Linked DNA regions of Homo sapiens: region 2 is linked to region 1. Evidence: promoter capture Hi-C in human tissues and cell types (Jung and others, 2019). All regions are on one chromosome and are shown on one strand. Each heading gives the region's core, a stretch centred on a gene start or on the middle of the fragment in contact. The rest is flanking DNA. Distances are from core to core; before and after follow the strand shown.

Evidence for each region. The method cuts DNA at HindIII sites, captures the fragments that hold promoters and counts their contacts. A contact is called where the count stands out against the background at its distance.
Region 2: the fragment with the promoter of DBNDD2 here is called in contact with the fragment with the promoter of WFDC8 in region 1 in 2 of the 25 tissues and cell types used here (mesendoderm cells and neural progenitor cells).

The regions. Positions count from the first base shown.
Region 1 is chr20:45,576,538-45,582,481 of GRCh38, forward strand. WFDC8 (WAP four-disulfide core domain 8) reads right to left here and starts at 2,747. Exons shown (of 6, transcript NM_130896.3): 1 at 2,685-2,747. The coding sequence starts at 2,710. RefSeq lists an enhancer at 1,562-2,497. The HindIII fragment of the contact is 18,093 bases long and covers 1-5,944 here.
Region 2 is chr20:45,404,880-45,410,823 of GRCh38, forward strand. DBNDD2 (dysbindin domain containing 2) reads left to right here and starts at 3,410. Exons shown (of 3, transcript NM_001048225.4): 1 at 3,410-3,727; 2 at 3,922-4,059; 3 at 5,053-5,728. The coding sequence starts at 3,589. The coding sequence ends at 5,261. It overlaps SYS1-DBNDD2 (SYS1-DBNDD2 readthrough (NMD candidate)), which reads left to right. Exons shown (of 6, transcript NR_003189.2): 4 at 3,581-3,727; 5 at 3,922-4,059; 6 at 5,053-5,731. LOC107985404 (a long non-coding RNA gene) reads right to left here and starts at 3,010. Exons shown (of 5, transcript XR_007067608.1): 1 at 2,870-3,010; 2 at 1,235-1,553; 3 at 838-941. LOC107985405 (a long non-coding RNA gene) reads right to left here. Exons shown (of 2, transcript XR_001754640.2): 2 at 5,696-5,944. RefSeq lists an enhancer at 1,998-2,547. The HindIII fragment of the contact is 23,713 bases long and covers 1-5,944 here.

The sequences.
Region 1 (5,944 bases), core at 1,497-3,996:
TATAGGCATGTGCCACCACACCTGTAATTTTTGTAATTTTAGTAGAGACGGGGTCTTTCCATGTTGCCTAGGCTGGTCTTGAACTCCTGGCCTCAAGCAATCTGCCTGCCTCGGCCTCCCAAAGTGTTGGGATTACAGGCGTGAGCCAATGTGCCCAGCCTTAGAGTTTTCTATTGCCTAATATTAATCAAACTATACTCTCTCTTCTTTGTTTGCATTTGCCTAGTCTTTTTTCCATTCTTTTGCGTTCAACCATTCTACTTATGTTTTAAGTTTATCCTTCAAATCGTGTAAATCTACATTGTAAAAATCCAGTCCAGAAATTATTACCTATTAATTGACATTTATGGGCACTAATGACATATTTGGATTCATTTCTACAATTTTATTACAAGTTATCTACTCTCAGTCCTCATTATTCAGATTCTGTACTTGCCAATTTGCCTACTTGCTGAAATTTATTTATTACCCAAAAATCAATACTCATGATGCTTTTGTGGTCATTCAGGGATATGTGCAGAATGGCAAAAAATTTGAGTCCCCCAACGTACACATTCCCAGCTGAAGTCAAACAAGGCAACGCTCTGCTTGTTTAAGCTCTTCTACTACTATAAACAAGCTTCCTTTTTGCAGTCTACTTAGTGTCACATTTTTCACATTTTTGTGCTTTTTGTTGGTGAGTTTGCTGTTTAAAATGGCTGCCAAGAATTACTAAAGTGCTGTCAAGTGTCCTAAGAGCAAGAGGCCTGCAATGTGCCTTACAAAGAAATTACTTGTGTCAGATAAGCTTGGTTCAGGCATGAGTTACAGGGCTTTCAGCCACAATTCAATGTTAATGAAACAATAATATATATTACATAAGGTGTCTTTTTTTTTTTTTGAGATGGAGTCTCACTCTGTCGCCAGGCTAGAGTACAGTAGTGCGATCTCGGCTCGCTGCAACCTCCGCCTTCTGGGTTCAAGTGATTCTCCTGCCTCAGACTCCCGAGTAGCTGGGATTACAGGCACCCACCACCACGTCCTGCTAATTTTTTGTATTTTTAGTAGAGATGAGGTTTCACTGTGTTGGCCAGGATGGTCTCAATCTCCTGACCTAGTGATCCGCCTGCCTCAGCCTCCCAAAGTGCTGGGATTACAGGCATGAGCCACCGCGCCTGGCCTATATACATGTTTAAAAAATAAAGACAGGGCCAGCACGGTGGCTCATGCCTGTAATCCCAGCACTTTGGGAGGCTGAGGCAGGCAGATCACCTGTGGTCAGGAGTTCAAGACTAGCCTGGCCAACACGGTGAAACCCTGTCTCTACTAAAAATACAAAAATTAGCCTGGAGTGGTGGTGCACACCTGTAGTCCCAGCTACTCAGGAGGCTAAGGCAGGAGGATCCCTTGAACCCAGAAGGTGGAGGTTGCAGAGAGCCGAGATCACACCACTATGCTCCAGCCTGGGGGACAGAGAGAGATTCCCTCTCAAACAAAACAAAAAAAATAAAAATAAAAATAAATAAATAAATAAAGTATGTAGAGTTTTATTTAATAATTAACCACACAGATTAAAAAATAGAAAGTAGCCAGCTTCCCAGAAGTCTTCTGTGTGCACCTTCTAATTACCATCTCTGTCATGTGTCTTCAGACAGAAGCACATATAAAAACAAGGTTATGTATTGATCAAATGATGAAAATGTGTGGTCAGAGGCTTGCATTTTCCCTAGGAGCAATGGCTCAGTATTTGCTAATCCGGTGTTCACAGTGACTTTACAGAACATAACTACCCCCAAGTAATGGGAATCAACTGTATTTTTATTACTTTGGTGTACAAAGAACTTTGAGCTCTCCATGGCTTGCCACAACAAAAGACTTCCTAGGCAAATTGTCTACTGCTTTGTTCCAAGTGGGGGCTCTACTTGAGGCTGTGGGACCAAGACAAAAGAAGCAGCCTCTATGTGGATTAGGCCCCTTCTCCTGGCAGAGAGAAAGCACAAAGGAGCTGGCAGAAACTCACAGTGCAAAACTCACTATGCATATGCTACATCTGCTCATACTCCAATAGGCAAAGCACAGCTGACAGCAAACCCAAAGTCAATGAGACAGAAATGTGTCTTCCTTCCACGGGCCGTTCTAAAATTGCAAGGTAATGGACAGGAGTGTCCTCTTAAAGGAAAGATGGAATGAATAGTTGTGAATAATAATATAACCCATCACTACTACTCCTGTTTTAATTTTTTGAAAATGTTTAGATACATATTATATGCTTGTTTAATTTAAAATATCAAACTTTACCTTGCTCAGGCTCTGCCCCTCCACACTGGGCCACTCAAAGATGCCCAACTTACCCTACTTGGGCTCCAACAGCCATATCAGGTTGCATTCGAGACCAGCCTGGCCAACATGGTGAAACCCCGTCTCTACTAAAAATGCAAAACTTAGCCGAGCGTGGTGGCGCACACCTGTAGTCCCAGCTACTAGGGAGGCTAAGGCAGGAGAATCGCTGGATGCATTGATGCCCTCTTCACCCTGCTTAGGCTCTGATTCCTGACACAAGACAGCTCTGTTCTGTGGAACCCCTCCTCACTATGCTTGGCCCAACTCCCCACAGCCGACCACTCTAACTTCTATGTATCCTCCTCATCTCCTTGGGCTCAGACCCTCCATGTCTGGCTACCCACCCCCATAGACACCCTCCTCACCCTCCTTCAGTTCGGACAGTCCACATCAGGCCTCTTCCCTATGGAGACAGCTTCCTCACTTTGCTCCAGCTCTAAGGCTCCTCCCTCATCTGCTCCCCTGCCTGGACACTCTGCTCACCCCACTCAGGCTCTCATTCTATGCCAGTCTGCCCCTCTAGCCCCAGGGGGATGCCTTTCTCAACATGGGCAGGCTGGTCTCCATGCTATGCTGCTTCTTGCCTCTTCACTGGGCATTCTCATCTACCCCTGGCTCCAGCACACCAGGCCAGCAGCCCTCCTACAGAGACACCCTCCTTGACCTGTTCCAGCTCTGATGCCCACACGGAGCCAGCCGTGGCTCCCTTCCCCTTGGGGCAAACGCCTACCTTGCTAAATGTGCCTATCTAATGGCTTTAGGACTGACTAGTTCAGTTAGTAAAGAAAAGGAGACAAAACAAGGAAGAGCTACTTTTCCTTTTTGTAAAAATATGTATTGTGAAAAACACCACAAAAATAAAAATATGCATGAAACATTAATGTTCAGTCTAACGAACTATTACGAAGTGACCACTCATTAAACTATCACTGAAATCAAGTAAAAAATTTCCAACACTTTCTGCTCCTTTTTCATTCTTTTCCAGTCACAACCCCTTCCTATGCTCTCAAAGGCAGCTAATGGTAGTGACTTTCTTTTTCATATTTTCAAGATCATATGTATTCCCCTAAATATGTTTTTGTTTTTGTCTGCTTCTGTTCTATATCAATGGAGTCACTTGGAATGTATTCTTTTGTGCCTGGCTTTTTGTGTTCAACATTATATTAATGAATTCCATCCACATTGTTTTGTGTAGCTGTATTTTGTCAATTTTCATTGCCATGCCATCTATTGTATGACTACACACATCTCTACTGAGTTGTTTATAGTTTGCAGCTGTTAAGAATAAAGCTGCTGTGTGTATACATAGCATGTATGTAATAACGTTCTGCACGTGTATCCCAGAACTTAAAGTATAATAAAAAACTAGGATTTTCTAAATAAAAATGTTATTTATATCAACATGTAATAAGTTTATTACGTTAAATGAATTAATAAATGTTTTTAAATGTCAAAAAAATTTTAAACAATTTACTCATGTAAAAAAAAGAATAAAGCTGCTATGAACACTCTGTGTGCATTTGCTGGAGCACGTGGGCAGGTGTTCTTGTAGGTTATACATTCAGCATAGGGAATGATGGGTTACAGGGTATGCATATCTTCAGCTTCTCAAGCTGATACCAAATTATTTCCCAAAGAGTTTGTACCAATTCACAGCCTTGCCATTGGTAGTTGAGAGTTCCTATTGTTCCATAACCATGCTGTATGTAGAACTGTCACAATCTTTTCATTTTTACCATCCTGCTACGAGTATGGAAATACATCACTGTGGACTTAATTTAAATTTCTTGACTACTAATGAGGTTGAGCACCTTTTTAGATCTTTATTAACCACTTGGCTATCCTCTCTTTGATTTTCTTTTCAAATGTTTTGCTCATTGTTCTCTGGGGTTTTCTGACTTTTTCTTGCTGATTTCTACTGGAGTCATGTCTTTCCTCAGTTATATGTATTATGAACATCTTCCAGGATCAAGGGTAATCTTCTAAAACCCTTATTGGCTTGTCTTTTACCTTTTGAATGAAAGTTTTTATCACGTGCCCTTCCTACCCCAAAGACAGAATCAGGAATCCTTTTTCTATGTTCCTTTCCTACAATACAATAACTCGCTACAATACAATACAGTAACTCCAATATCTGAAGTCTTTGTGGACCTCTGCTGTTGGTTGTTTTTCTTGATTTTTTTCATCTTGTTTTCTTAAGATCTGTGTGATTTTTTTTATTGTGAGAGTACATATTTAATGGAAGTTTATGTATGTAACAATACTTTGTGGAATTTCTTGGATTCCTGTGTTTAAAGGAGAATTCTTCCGAATCAACTTGTCCTCAATTTTTCCCTAACAACTCATGCAATTTTGAATTAAATTCATAGCTTTAGATTTATCAGACCATGCACATGTGCCAATTTTCCTACTCTGCTCTTATGAAAGGAAACAAGGTTGCAGTTACAAATTCTCAGAATAGTCTTTTTTTTTTTTTTTGAGATGGAGTCTCGCTCTGTTCCCCAGGCTGGAGTGCAGTGGCACTATCTCAACTCACTGCAACCTCCTTCTCCCGGGTTCAAGTGATTCTCCTGCCTCAGCCTCCTGAATAGCTGGGATTACAGACACGCACCACCACGCCTGGCTAATTTTTTTGTATTTTTAGTAGAGATGGGGTTTCACCATGTTGGTCAGGCCGGTCTCGAACTCCTGGCCTCGTGATCCACCCACCTCTGCCTCCCAAAGTGCTGGGATTACAGGCATGACCCACTGCACCCAGCCCAGAGTAGTCTTTTTTCCTGTTTTGTTCAGAGCCAAAGCCAAGACAGGCAAGTTCCTTCACCACAGTTGTGCATGTGTGTGTTTCTGTTTCATCCATTTATTTCTGTTTCATCCATTTATTAAGGTGTCAGCATTTGGTGATCCTTGTGAGTGAGATTTCTGATCTGACTTTTCACATTGCTTAGGGCTTAGCTCTTTTTTCTTGCCCTTGCCAGGGGCCCACTAAAATTCAAACTGCAGATTACCAGGCATTGGCAGATACTCCCAGGGAAGCCTCTAACTAAAGCACTTCCTTATCTCTCTGGAGTCAGACCTTCACATCATTTTTGGCTTTTAAGAATTCCTCTTTCTTGCCAACTGACTCATTGATTTAAAGAGTCATGCATTTTAAGTATTTTAGACAATATTTTGGGGGGGTGATTTACTGGGAATAGTTTCTAAGAGTCCTAGTTATGAATTTTTAATTATAAAATTACACACATCAAATACCCAATAAGTGAAACAGTACAAAGAACATATAAAGAAAAGGTAATAATTTCTAAGCCACATCTCTCCATTTCTAACTCCCTCAATATTAATAGCCTTGGTTGATAATTAATAACCAATTTTAATGGGCTGTTTTGTACCCTTACCATCTTTCTCTGCGTCCAAATATATACAATCATGTATGTATATGGGTTCTGATACTTGGAAAACAAAATGAAATTATGATGTATACATTCACTACTACTGTACTTGCTTCTTTTCACTTAACTCTACCTCATGTAAGTCCATCCATATAAAAATGTAGATTGAAAATTGCCTTAAATAGATGCCCACACTCTGTTCAACATCTCTGCTCTTAAATTACTGCTAGTCTTATGGA
Region 2 (5,944 bases), core at 2,160-4,659, 170 kb before region 1:
CTCCCTCTGCACATGCCCTTCTCCCTCTTTTCTGCTTGTTGAACTCATGTCTTCAAGACTTAGCTCAGATATCAGCGTCCAGATTTTATTCTAACAGTGGAGGAATTTAGGCAACGCCGCGTGGCGGGGGGGTCGAGGGGGGCACACCAGACTTGTGTTCTGAAATGACAGCTGACTTGTAATGCAGGGAATGGAGTGTAGCCGGGCCAGAATGAGTACAAGAAAACCAGATAGGGCCGGGCGCGGTGGCTCACGCCTGTAATCCCAGCACTTTGGGAGGCCGAGGCGGGTGGATCACGAGGTCAGGAGATCGAGACCATCCTGGCTAACAAGGTGAAACCCCGTCTCTACTAAAAATACAAAAAATTAGCCGGGTGCGGTGGCGGGCGCCTGTAGTCCCAGCTACTCGGGAGGCTGAGGCAGGAGAATGGCGTGAACCCAGGAAGCGGAGCTTGCAGTGAGCCGAGATTGCGCCATTGCAGTCCGCAGTCCGGCCTGGGCAACAGAGCGAGACTCCGTCTCAAAAAAAAAAAAAAAAAGAAAAGAAAACCAGATAGAAGGTTACTGCATTAGGAGCCCAGGCGGGAGGTGGTGGGGCAAACGGAAGGAATGGTGGACTGGAAAGATATTTAGGAAAGAGAATCGACAGGAAATGGAGGTGTATTTTAATATAGGCAGCGAGGGAGAGGGAGGTGGCAAGGATGACTCCTAGTTCCTGACTTGCTCGCGGATGTTTGTCGAATGAATGATCCAGTGACCCCAAGGCAGAAGTATCTCAGAGAGATCCCCCCACTCCCCTCCCCGCACCCGTCACCACGCTGCCTTCGGAGCTCTGACCGTAAGGGGGTGGATGGAAGGCAGGAGGAAGGGAATGGCCACGGAGTCTTGGTCCAGGAGCTGCTAGACTGGACACTTCTAGCACTGGTCTGAGCCAGGAGACGCTGCGAAAAGAGGGCAAACGTTTCTCCTCTCGCAGTTGCCGCCTCGCCCCTCCACCCCCGCCTGGCCAGCAGCGCAGCGCCCCTCTTAGCACCGTGGAGGTGCTGGCTCCTTGCCGGCGTCGGGGGGCGCGGCGTAGCGGCCCACCCTTCCAGCTCTGACCCGCCCGGCCGGCCCGGCGCCCACCCCGCCCAGTGTGCTTGGTAGGTTGGGCGGCGGCTCTGTCTAGTCCCAGAGCCAGGAATCAGGGGCAGCCGGGCGAGTCCCAGGGCAGGGGTCCTCCGCCGCCTTGCACCTGCCCTGCTGGGCGGCACCGGGTCAGTGCCCTGCCCCCTCCTGCGGGTCCCAACTCTCTCTTTCCCATCGTGCGTCCTCTGGAGAAGTGCGCGCGTGTAAGTGTGGCGAGTGTGGCCAAGGGTGCCGGAGGCAGGGTTCGGGTGCGTAGTCGTTGCGTGGGCGCTGCCCAAAAGGCGCAGAGCATCAAGTGTGCGTGGGCAGAACCGGCGCGGGCGCCCGCCGCGGGTCTGCGCGGGGCGGGGGCGCAGCAAGTGCATCCGAGCGAGCGGAGACTAGCGCACCGGCGTCGGTGGCGAGGGTGGTGCAGAGGAGTCCGGCTGGGCGGAGGGAGGAAGGATGGGTGCGGGTAACTTTTTGACCGCCTTGGAAGTACCAGTAGCCGCGCTCGCAGGGGCTGCCTCCGACCGCCGGGCGAGCTGCGAGCGAGTGAGCCCGCCACCGCCCCTCCCCCACTTCCGCCTCCCGCCTCTTCCTCGTTCCCGGCTCCCAGGGCCCGTCGGTCCCCCGGGAGCCCTGGAGGCGCAGCCCCACCCCGGCCGGCGCGGCTCGCTCCCACGCCCCCGCCGCGGCCTCGCTGGAGCGGACGGACTGAGTCAGAGGGGGCGCCAGCGCTGCAGGTAGGGGCTCCGGCGGCGGTGGGCGCAGGTGCCGCGGTGGACCGCGGAGGGGACCGGAGCACGAGGGGAACGGCCTTGGGGGAGCGCCCTCCCCCCGTCCTCCGCCGACGCCTCGTGTCCCTTTTTAGGGAATTTTTTCCCTCTTGCTGGCTCCAGTGCGGGTGGGGCTGAGACCGAGAGGGAGTTCTCCATTTCGCTGGCTCCTGCCCGGCCCCTGGCAGCCTCCTGCCCCCAAATCTCTTCACCCCCTTTCCAGTACCTATAGGTCGCGTAAACAACTCCCTTTCTCCAGCTCTGGGCTCCGCGGCCCCCCGGGGGACAGCTCCTTCAGTCTCGTGAGATCGGTGGGGTTAGGGGGAGGGGAAAAGAGAGGGGGTGTCCCAGAGCCCCTGGCCCCCGTCAGCTCCCCCACCTTGGCCTCTCCCTCCCCCTCCTCGCTGCTGGAGCACAGGCTCCAGGGGCCCTGGGTATTTTTAGCGTTGTGACCTGGGCGGCAGCTCTAAGAGCCTTTCCCGGGAATCGGCGTCAGCGCCTCGCTCCTCCGCCGCCAGCCCGCGGCCGCACGGTCTCCCCAGACTTCCGTGGCCCTGCCTTGGCCAGTCGGGGTTGGGTCCCTCTCCACCTCTGTGGCGCCCGTGGAGCTGGCCAGGGTCTGGGATACGCTGGGTGCAGATGAGGTGGGGAAGGCAGTCTGCGGAGGATGACGTCTGATCCTCAAGCTAGAAACTCCCTTGCCTCTGGTGATGGGCTCAGAGCAGAACGCCGGGAAGGAGATGAGCGAATGGGAATGAATGCACCGACCTGGGCTGGCCCATAGCCTCAGTGCTCTGGCAGGGTCTCAGCTTCTCAGCCCTAGGGGTCAGGAGGCCTGCTCTGAACTGGACCCAGAACCCGCCTTTCCAATTGCTCCTCACTGACTAATGGGGAGATAAGTCAGTGAGATGTGTCCCAGGAGGGGGACGCATAAAGAGCTGTTGGAGTTCAAAGGAAAGATGGTAGTCTCCTAAATAGCTCACCTTCACAAGCAGGGTCTTGTATTTGAGGCAGGTAGGTTGGTTATGCCATTTTCAGATGGGGAGACTAAGACCAGAAAGGTGATTTCCTTAGGGGCAGAGCCTAGTCTGGAAGTCAGGCCTGTGACTTCAGAGCAAGGGTTTGGGGTAGATGGCACATGCGTGTGTACGTGTTTGTGTGGGTGGAGAGAAAAGGAGGGGCGCGGGAGGAGTTGCTTTAGCCTTTGTCTGGGTTTTGAAGGATGGGAAGGGGTGGGCTGCAGCACTGGAGGAAGGGAACCCTCCACCCTGAGATCTCTGTCTCTATCCTATCCTGTCCCTGGCCTTCTGAGGCAAGCGGGGCCAATTAAGGGGAAAACGTACCTCCTCCATTTGTGCTGAACCAATCCCTCCAACCCCTCTCAGGAGGGCATGATATGGAGAGTTGGGCATTGGCTGTGTTCCCTGAATACAGAGTATCTCTCTTGTGGTGCCTGGAACTGGCATCCCCTTTGTGGAGCTTAGGGCAAGCCCCGCCTCTGCATGAGACTTGGTTTGTGGGACACACTTGGTTTCAGGGAAGGGGAAAGAGGTCACCAAGGGCAGAGGTGTCCAGGCCGGAGCCAGGGGCCCCACTGTTGGGATGCTGGCTGCAGTGGGGCGCCCCAAGCCCAGGTCCCCTCTGTCTTCTCTTTCGACTTTGCAGCTGTACTTGTTTTGCTCCTCTACCCGCAGGAGCTGACATGGACCCAAATCCTCGGGCCGCCCTGGAGCGCCAGCAGCTCCGCCTTCGGGAGCGGCAAAAATTCTTCGAGGACATTTTACAGCCAGAGACAGAGTTTGTCTTTCCTCTGTCCCATCTGCATCTCGAGTCGCAGAGACGTAAGTCCCAAGTCCTGAGAAGAGGGACTGGGGTAGGGTAGGGAGGATGTCCTGTGGGTCCTGAATCTTGTGGCACTCTCTCCCCTCTGGTTTTCTTGGCCCTCTATGCTTCTAACTTGGGACCTGACATGTAACTCTCACTGTCCTGGTGTGCAGCTTGGGTCCTCCTGACTTGCCCACTTCTTGATCCGCAGCCCCCATAGGTAGTATCTCATCCATGGAAGTGAATGTGGACACACTGGAGCAAGTAGAACTTATTGACCTTGGGGACCCGGATGCAGCAGATGTGTTCTTGCCTTGCGAAGATCCTCCACCAACCCCCCAGTCGTCTGGTATGCCCCTCTGCTTTGGGGACTTCAGTGCCAGTCAGCCAGAGCCGGATGTCAGGCTCTGAAACGAGGCTACAAGGCTGGGCTGGGGAAGTACACAAGTAAGGGCTGGAAGTGGGTGTTTCTACCAATGAAACAGCTGCCTGTTCTGATTTTAGGGAAGTTGACCCTGAGGGAGAACTGGGTTACACATCTCTAATCCAAAATTCTGGGAACGGTCAATCTCTTCTTTAATTTTACATTTGTTATATTAATATAATTAGTCACTATAATTAAAATAATGTAAAATTGTAATTTTTATATTTGGCAACTTAAGTAGTTTTAGTCATTATAATGATATTAATATGTATTGAGTACTTTAGTAGGTTCCAATACTGTACTAAAGTACTTTACATATATTATCTCAATCCTTACAACGTCCTGTCAGGGTAGGTGATATAATCTCTATTTTATAAGCAGGAAATTAGGCTCAGAGAAGTTAAGTCACATTGTAGCCAGAAGGTAGATAAACTGGAATTCATGTCTGTCTGACTCCAAAGCCCATATGCTTAACTTGTAAGATAGATATTCTTTTAATTAAAACTGCTACTATTTATTGATGGCTTACTATGCCAGACATTTTATAAGCATTCTTAGGTTTTATTCCCAAAACCCTTTGGGGATGTAGGTATCCCTTTTATTTTGCAGAGGAGGAACAGAGTCCTTGAAAGGGAAAGTGACTTGCTCAAAGCCACTCAGCAGCAATAAGTGATGTAGGTGGAACTTGAACTCTTGCCATTCATTGACCTGACTGTAGATCCCAGACATGGTGTAATGACGTGGAAGGAGCTGGCAGTCAGGAGATGGTGATCTTAATCCTGGCTCTTTGCTGGATTGGCAAAGTCACTTTGGACAAGTCTCTGCCCCACTGTGGACTTTAGTTACTCCTGGCCAGATAATCTTTAAGAGTTCTCTGAAGCCCTGTTTGTGGCCTGACCAGCTTTTCTCTCTGGGCAGGGATGGACAACCATTTGGAGGAGCTGAGCCTGCCGGTGCCTACATCAGACAGGACCACATCTAGGACCTCCTCCTCCTCCTCCTCCGACTCCTCCACCAACCTGCATAGCCCAAATCCAAGTGATGATGGAGCAGATACGCCCTTGGCACAGTCGGATGAAGAGGAGGAAAGGGGTGATGGAGGGGCAGAGCCTGGAGCCTGCAGCTAGCAGTGGGCCCCTGCCTACAGACTGACCACGCTGGCTATTCTCCACATGAGACCACAGGCCCAGCCAGAGCCTGTCGGGAGAAGACCAGACTCTTTACTTGCAGTAGGCACCAGAGGTGGGAAGGATGGTGGGATTGTGTACCTTTCTAAGAATTAACCCTCTCCTGCTTTACTGCTAATTTTTTCCTGCTGCAACCCTCCCACCAGTTTTTGGCTTACTCCTGAGATATGATTTGCAAATGAGGAGAGAGAAGATGAGGTTGGACAAGATGCCACTGCTTTTCTTAGCACTCTTCCCTCCCCTAAACCATCCCGTAGTCTTCTAATACAGTCTCTCAGACAAGTGTCTCTAGATGGATGTGAACTCCTTAACTCATCAAGTAAGGTGGTACTCAAGCCATGCTGCCTCCTTACATCCTTTTTGGAACAGAGCACGGTATAAATAATAAACTAATAATAATATGCCAACCATTCGACTTCATTTTTCATATTGCAAAGATATCAAACCCACTACATGTCTTTAGCTCTCTAACCGATCCCATATTCCTATCACTCACTCATTCCATTTATTCAAGAAATGTTTATGGAACACCCATGCTAGGCATCTGGAATACAGTTTTGAGCAAGACAGGCTGTACTGTATACCTGCCTTCATAGAGTTTACTGTTTATGGAGGAGAAAATC